Linked DNA regions of Homo sapiens: region 2 is linked to region 1. The links are contacts of gene promoters, found by promoter capture Hi-C in human tissues and cell types (Jung and others, 2019). All regions are on one chromosome and are shown on one strand. Each heading gives the region's core, a stretch centred on a gene start or on the middle of the fragment in contact. The rest is flanking DNA. Distances are from core to core; before and after follow the strand shown. Region 1 holds the start of MPZL3 (myelin protein zero like 3). Region 2 overlaps KMT2A (lysine methyltransferase 2A).

Region 1 (2,569 bases), core at 70-2,569:
TTTGAAAATATTATAACTGGATATTTCTTCAAACAGATGTCCTGGATGATGGTCCATAAGAATAATGAAGAAGTAGTTAAAAATGTATGGACAGTTTTTCCGGCAAAATTTGTAGCTTATGTCTTGGCTAAATAGTCAAGGGGTAATATGGGCCTGTTGTTTAGTGTCTCCTTCCTAAAGAGCACTTTTGTATTGTAATTTATTTTTTATTATGCTTTAAACACTATGTAAATAAACCTTTAGTAATAAAGAATTATCAGTTATATAATTTGTGTATATACATATCTAGAAGTTCTACATTGCAGGAAAAACAGATGGATATATATTTAATCTTTACCAAAAAGTTTTCTTAGTAGAGACAACCTGCAAGTCAATAATGGATACAGTTAGTTTCTAATGGGTAAACAGAAGTATACGGATTTCCACAGAATTTTCACACTGTTTTGGATAGCTGGGAATTGGGCATAACAACACTACTTAGTTTGAGGGCTCTTTCAAAGAAAAGTATCAAAGATTCTATTTAGTACTTTGCATTACACTTTTAATAGGGAAAACTACTGGCTTTCAAGTCTAGTAAAGGAATGGAAATTGAAAAATGGAAACTTATTAATTCTTCCCCAAAGCGAAAGCATACTTTTATTCTCCTCCTGCTTTCATTGACATGTGGCAATTTCCAGGGAAGAGGCTTACTGATTATTAAAGCAGTGTACTTATTGTACCATCTCTTTTTCAGAAGTATGTGACGCCATCTCACTTCAAGTACTGTGATAACATAACTTTCTTACTTTTCCAACCAAAGACACAGAAATCCCAGTTCCTCTTTTCCTCTAATACAGGCTGTAATGATTTGATCATCATTGCCACCGCCAAAAGTAATTTAATAAACACCCAATTTTGGAGGCTGCAATACTTACACTAAAAAGGACACCAACCAATGAGGCTTGTGGCACATATCACTACAAGCACCTAATATATATTTATCTATACTGTATGATCTCCCAGGTGTTTCTGAACTCTAAATTTACAGTAGTGTATTCTGAGAACCTTCAACTAAATCTCGAGACGTAAAAACGATGTCTGACATGCAGTCAGAGCATCAAAATTATTTAGTTCTGCAGAATTCCATAAAAACAAAATTGTAATTATTCCAAGTCCGTAGCCTACTTCATTTTCAAGCAAAAGAGAGCATTTAGCTCCCGCCTGAAAGTTAATAAATCTCTGGTCAGTGAAACCAGGTGTGGTTCTGGAAAGAAGCCAGGTTCCTATGGTAACTTCGGATCGCCATTTAAGTTGTCTCTCGGCCTCCTGCTCTGACGTCACTTCCGGTGTTACCTGTGTCGTTACCGGGAGCTGTAAACAAGGTGTGCAAGCATCTGAAGAGCTGCCGGGATGCAGCAGAGAGGAGCAGCTGGAAGCCGTGGCTGCGCTCTCTTCCCTCTGCTGGGCGTCCTGTTCTTCCAGGGTGAGTGCTCCGGCTGGCTACGCTCCACTTCCGGCCGGGGGGTTAGGGAAGATGGTCGCTTTTCCGGTTCCGGGTAGGGGGGTCTCCAGAAAGCCCCCGCATAGCTCTGGGAAGGAAGGAGGGAGGGAGCGGGACGTTGGGACGATGTCATCACCACCCCGTTGAGGATAGTTGGTATTTTGTCAGTCCTTTCCTGAGCTTTGGGAGCTTTTTCACCTTGCGTGACCTGTCATTGTAGTTTGGTGATAGCATACTTGATGGAACCACAAAGAGCTCTGGCTTTGGGGGCACCCGGTGTTATTTTGTGGTGTTATTATCAGTGGTTGACCGCTGTCGTTTGGGCGCTGTATACCCTGATTAGAAAGAAAACAGTTCTAGCATTCAGTAGTTTGCCCCAGTAGTTTTGGGAAACAAAATCATGACAGTTGGTAATTTTATTTTTTGTAGGTGATTATTGTAGTCTATAAAATGAAATATTTGCTAGTCACAGAAGGGATGTGATGTGATTCGTTATAGAGAAGCATATCGATGAAAAAGTAACTGCTTTAGCATTTTCATAACTTTTTTTAATACAAGAAAGAGCATATAAATTCTGTTAAAATTTATTAAGTAATATCAGAAGTAGGGTATTCACACTGACATTCACATCTTAAAATTAGGTGAGTTTTGCTTTCATATAATTTTCAAATTGCATAAATTTCAATCCAGCCTAATTACCTTCATCTTAAGGTACAATTATTTCCTGGATTTTGTGTATGTGTGTCTTCCTGGGAAATAAAATATTAGTATATCTAGTATTAGAGTGAATTGCTAAATTTATAAAATTTCCTTGAGGGTAATGGGGATTTCTGAAAGAGATATTTAATATTATATAAATATAAATAGTTTAATATAAAGACTTCAGATGTCCTAAATCTTAGCAGTTAAGGCTGGAAAGTTTTTAACTGGTGACTAATATTCATGTTGCCAGCACACCCCCGATCCCTCCCAGCTGCCTGTGTCATCATAAGTCTCCAGTTTTTAAGCTAAATTACTTTGCAGTATGATATTTAGGCTGGCCTACTGTCACTCCTAATAAACCCAGTCCTCTCTCTCTCTCTTTCACAC
Region 2 (5,010 bases), core at 711-3,210, 270 kb before region 1:
GGTCCTGAACATACATCACTGATGAATAAAGGAAGAAAATAGTCAAGAGAGCCAGTGTGGAGTGGACCTGAAGGTGGGCTACAGGGAATAATTTAGTGATGCCACCTTAAAGTAAAGGACTGTGGAAGGTACTTTGTGACCAGGTCACAGGCCATGCCCCTCCCGCTTTTCTCCACCCTCTCCAACCAAAGCCAAAAGGAAGCTTAACCATGTGCAGCAATAAACTTGACATGTTTATTAATTAAACTATCACTTAAATAAAAAAAAGTGCATAGAAAATAAACATGTTTAAAAACTCCTTTTTTTTACAACTATGTACACTTTTTACTTTTACATTCAGTCTTTCGTAGAGAGCTTTCAGCATTATTATTTTTTGAACTATTAAAGTATTTTCCTTCATCCCTGTCACAGGGAGTTAACACTGATGGACTTTAGACACATTTTCCTTTTTTTTTTTTCTCTTTTTCTCTAACCAGAAGCTTGGAAGAACACAAGGAAAAAAAACAGATCTGTTATACATGATAAAGTTGTCAAAAAATGTCTTATTTCTAGAAAAGAAGCTTGTCATCTGTTGAGCTCTTGAAACAATTATTCAACTACCTGTATTTACTAAAGAGACTGTTAAAAGTTCAATAAAAGAAACACCACAATTCTATTTTCTTGGTTGAAAGACAGAACTAGAGTACCTCGGAACAAGATACCAGGAAAGCACAGAACACAATTTTCCCCTAAATGCAGGTGGTAACCCCAACATTCATAACCAAAAATAGAGAAACAAGGAGGACAGGTACTGACTGGCAACATTCATGGGCAGAAAAAAATCCAGGTGACACCATGTCTGCATTTTTCTCTGATCCGAGGAATGGACTGTTCTACCATTCCTTTATGGTTAGAGGTTCCCCCCATTTCGGGAATCAGAGGAAAGTGAGCCTGACATCTTCCTGCCGCTACTAGCAACTGTAACACAATCCTTATCTATAGTGTTAAGAGAATTAAAAGCCATGGACTGAACTAGGCTTTGTTACATGGTGCATTACTATATTAGTTCCTATATATATCATATTTATATTTATTTGAAAACCAAAACAAACAAAAAGTTGCAAGTTTCCAGAGTGTGTGACTTGACTAGTATTCATGATTCGGCACAAAACCATCTGCTCCATAACCTTGTATTGCTTTAAAATGAAGGAAATGAAACATAAAATTACACCCAGCCCTTTGCAATGACCCGCTTTTCCTTAAAAACAAAAACAACTTGATTTCTATTAAAAAAAAAAAATCCCAAACCGAACTTAGAAGTTAACATCTGACAAGGTTTTGACCTTTAGTATTTTCAGATATTTGATTGAACGTCAGTCCTTTAGAAAGATACATTCATTAGAATATTTTTTTTATTTTTGTGTGTGTGTTGTATTTTTTTTTCCTTTTTTTTTTATTTTTTATTTTTTTTAAATCAAGGGAGCTACATGGTGCTCACTGCATTGGCCGGGGGTTTGACGGAGGCGAGCAGGGTGGCGGGCTGGGTCCCGGCAAAGGAGTCTGGTTGAAAACGTATAGCTGCCAGGGCTTCCCCCTTAATTCTTGTTATTGGTGTAAAAACAGAGGGGCTGTGCGAGAGGTGGTGGGTGGCCAAGGAGGGAGCCAAGAGACCAAGTTCCGGCCAAAGGGTCAGCGCCATGCAGCTATTCTGGTTACACAGTTGTCACTGGCCACCAGGAAATGCAGCCACAACAGGTTCTAGCAGCAAAGCTATAAGTGAGCTGGCTCTCACTGAGAACTGACCAGGTTTGCAGCTGTTACTCCTCAGGGATTTGGGATGCCCCTTGGGGGATTCTTGGGAATGACCCATCACAATTCCTCAATCTGCACTTTTGTGCGGAGATTCCCTTGGTCACTTTTGAAATGAACTCAGATGTGTTTGGAGATAGCTGTGCCGTTTTTGCCTTCTTTCCCTCTTGTAGGGAAACCTTCGCTTATTCCCCCAAGTTGCTGGCAGGTGTGCTGAAAATTTGGCAATGGACTCAAGGCTGAGCTAGAAGAGGAATTTCTCATTTTTGTGGTTGACAATTAGGGGGTGGAAAGGCAAGGCAAACCATCTGCAGCTGGCAGGAGAAGGAAGCTGTGGGTTCCTCCCCTGTCCTCAGGGTTTAGGGTTGGTAGAGAGTGAGGAGGGGCTCACAGTACAGCATGGCCTAGCAGGGCAGTAACTAGGTCTATTTAGCTGAGTTCCCCCCACCCCCTGACTGGCCTTTGGGTCTTTCTCAAGGTGAATTCAGGACCCATCAGTGCATTAATCATTTCAGTAACAAATGCAGCTTAAGGTTTTTTTTTTTTCTTTAAAAAAAATAGGAATACAAGGATTTACAAAAAAACCTCACACAGTGCAATAATAAAGGAAAGCAGACACTAGTGGAACCCCTAGGGCCACTGCATCTTGTTCATGGGCAAAAGGAGGAAGGGAGGTGAGGTCTGGGTAGAGTGCTTTTCCCAGTCCCCTGCTGGCACTTCTCCATGATGACAAGGAAGTCTCTGCCATCCTGGCCACAGTGCTGGGCTCCCTGCATGACAGTGAAAACAGTGACAATGTTCCAGCAAAGCCACCAGACAAAGTTCTTAAGGTCACAGGAGAGAAGGGAGCCCAGGATGGAAGGCACAGCAGAGCCATGAGTCCTGGGGCAGAGAGTGCTGGGCTGAGTCGTATTGCTTTGCTAGACTTCCATAGGAATGGGCTTCTTGCGGCGAGAAAAGGGTGCCCCACCCTCTACTTGGACTACACTACTCTGAAACCTTGTGGCAGAGGCAGAGAAAAATCTGCTTTATCGTGAGTGGTCAGACTGTGCTTCAGTTTCAACAGGCTGCCCCAAAAGAGGGCACAAGGTGATCAATGGGTTCTCTGCAGATATGAGGACTTGGTGGGCAGAGGGAAAGGAAAGAGTGGCCTATGAGGCAGATGGTGATGCAAAAATGTCAAGTTGCCATTCAACTTGTTGTTTGCTAACTCTGAAGTAAGAAAGATGAGGGAAATGTAAAGATTGCCGTCTCCCACCACTCTGGAAGTTGCGCCGGAAAGGAGAGAGGCGGGAAAGAAGAGAATCTGTTGTATCAAGATATTACTGTAGCCTTTTGAGGAGCTTCAATAGGGGAAGGAGGGGAGTGGCCCAATGGAGTTGGGTGACCTTCCTTCTCCATTTATTGTCAAAGAGCAAACCCAGGAAACATTTATGTCAACAGGGCACAAACAAGCTACACATTAAACAACAAAAAGTACACCTTCCAGGGGGAAGTTGGGCAGGAAAAACCAGACTTTGTGTGTACAGCTGAATATTTTCTCTAACTTCATCCTATGAAAATAAAAAATTATTAAAAACCGATCTTCTTTTAAATTAGGATAATACCGCGGTTTAAAAAATAGCCTTGTCATAAGTGCTTCTCCCTATGAAGTGCTTCTCATAGAAAAATATACAAAATATATTTACATTTATAAAACCTTAAATAGTAAACTGTAAACAGAACAGAGTAAAATCCAATGACTTAATTTAACAGGTTCAGGACTCTGTCTTGGGGAAAGGAAGAGAAGAAACATTTGATGCTGTTTTGACCACATCCTAAGGAGTAATCAGGGCAGTAGTGTCATTGAATTTACTTTAGCTGTGGGTTGCACGCAGGTGGCAGAGTTCCCTCAACATAAGGTGGTCTAGTCCCCAAGTTGTGGGCCTTGAAATCTGATTAGTGTTCTGCCTTCAACTGGACACTGACCGTTTAAAAATTAAGTCTTCCTATGTCTTAACAAGGGGAAAATAAAGTAACCATGTCTTAGGAATGGGACCCAAGGGTCATCCTGGCTGTGATACTCTCGTTGTTGCATGATTTAAATCCTATTTAAATAATCTTTTTCCTCTCCTACAAAATCATGCTACATATGTTTCTTTAAAACTCTCCATGGAGCTTTATGAAAATGTTTCCAAATTCTGTCTGGTTATGACCAATGGCTCCTGTCCACTTCCCCACCTGGAGTGCTTACAGGCTCAGGGAACTTTTTGCAGGCACATCCTATGCCCAGCAGGGAGTGTCCTTGAGCAGGCAGTCAGTCTCCCCTACAACCCGAAAGAAGCATGGGAAAGCAGTGGCATGAAGACAGGGGAAAGGAAGAAAAGGGAGTGAAGAGGGAATGGGAGAGGGAAGCCGCTCCTACTGTCAAGAAAGGTAATTGGCTGAGATAAGGCTCCTGGGGGCAACACTCCCACTCAAAGCCTGCAGGCTCAATGTTTGGTAATTAATTGGCACAACCCCATGACAGCCTTTTGACACCGGAGGTGCTAGGAATCCTGTCTCCCAACCAGAAGTGAACTCTCGAGTGGGAGGATAGTAGGGAAAACCACCAGACCTCTGTTTGTTCGACAGACGCTGTAGGTGGGGCCTGGCTGGCAAACTGTCAGGAATCTAACCAACCCTCCATTTGGGGCTTTGCCTGACCCACTCACTTACAGTGCTTGGGAAAGGGCCAACCTGAGGATGGCAACTTATTTCTGTGGAGAAATTCAGGCCCAATCTCCCAACATAACCAACCCTCTATAATAGGCTCCTTCCAGGCAAGTCTGCTAGGGACCCCATTCCCACTTTCTAACAGTAAACAATTGGAGGGGCCCCAGGAGAAAGCCGATCATGGATCTTTTCTTCGAGACCTCAACTCTGTCTCTGGGACTATGATCACATGTCTGATGTGAGTATAGGACATAAGAGAGCTCAGCCATCACAGAGGCCCCTCAGCTGTGCCACGCAATCCGGGAGCTCCCAGCTGCTGGAAAAGGCCTTCAGCGTTGCTTTGGATGGCCCCGCCTCCTTGCACTCCAACACTGGGGGAGAAGAGCAGCTTTAGTTTAGGAACTTCCGGCATTTCTTGGCGCCACAGTTGCAGGGCAGCTTGTTGCTGGCATCCTCAATGGGGAACTTATAGTCGTAAGTGAGTTCCTCTCCTCGGTAGATCTTACGCATGGCAAAGATGACAATGTG

What was found. Contacts are between HindIII fragments. The study calls those that stand out against the background at their distance.
Region 2: a fragment that was not itself captured here is called in contact with the fragment with the promoter of MPZL3 in region 1 in 1 of the 25 tissues and cell types used here (hippocampus).

The regions. Positions count from the first base shown.
Region 1 is chr11:118,251,115-118,253,683 of GRCh38, reverse strand. MPZL3 (myelin protein zero like 3) reads left to right here and starts at 1,319. Exons shown (of 6, transcript NM_198275.3): 1 at 1,319-1,462. The coding sequence starts at 1,390. MPZL2 (myelin protein zero like 2) reads left to right here. Exons shown (of 6, transcript NM_005797.4): 6 at 1-268. RefSeq lists enhancers at 877-1,437, 1,787-1,836, 1,438-1,999. The HindIII fragment of the contact is 7,018 bases long and covers 1-2,569 here.
Region 2 is chr11:118,522,035-118,527,044 of GRCh38, reverse strand. KMT2A (lysine methyltransferase 2A) reads right to left here. Exons shown (of 36, transcript NM_001197104.2): 36 at 213-5,010. The coding sequence ends at 4,873. The region is part of intron 1 of TTC36-AS1 (TTC36 and KMT2A antisense RNA 1); the gene reads left to right. Among named protein-coding and RNA genes, the nearest start is that of TTC36, 2.9 kb to the left of the region's middle. The HindIII fragment of the contact is 4,547 bases long and covers 1-4,233 here.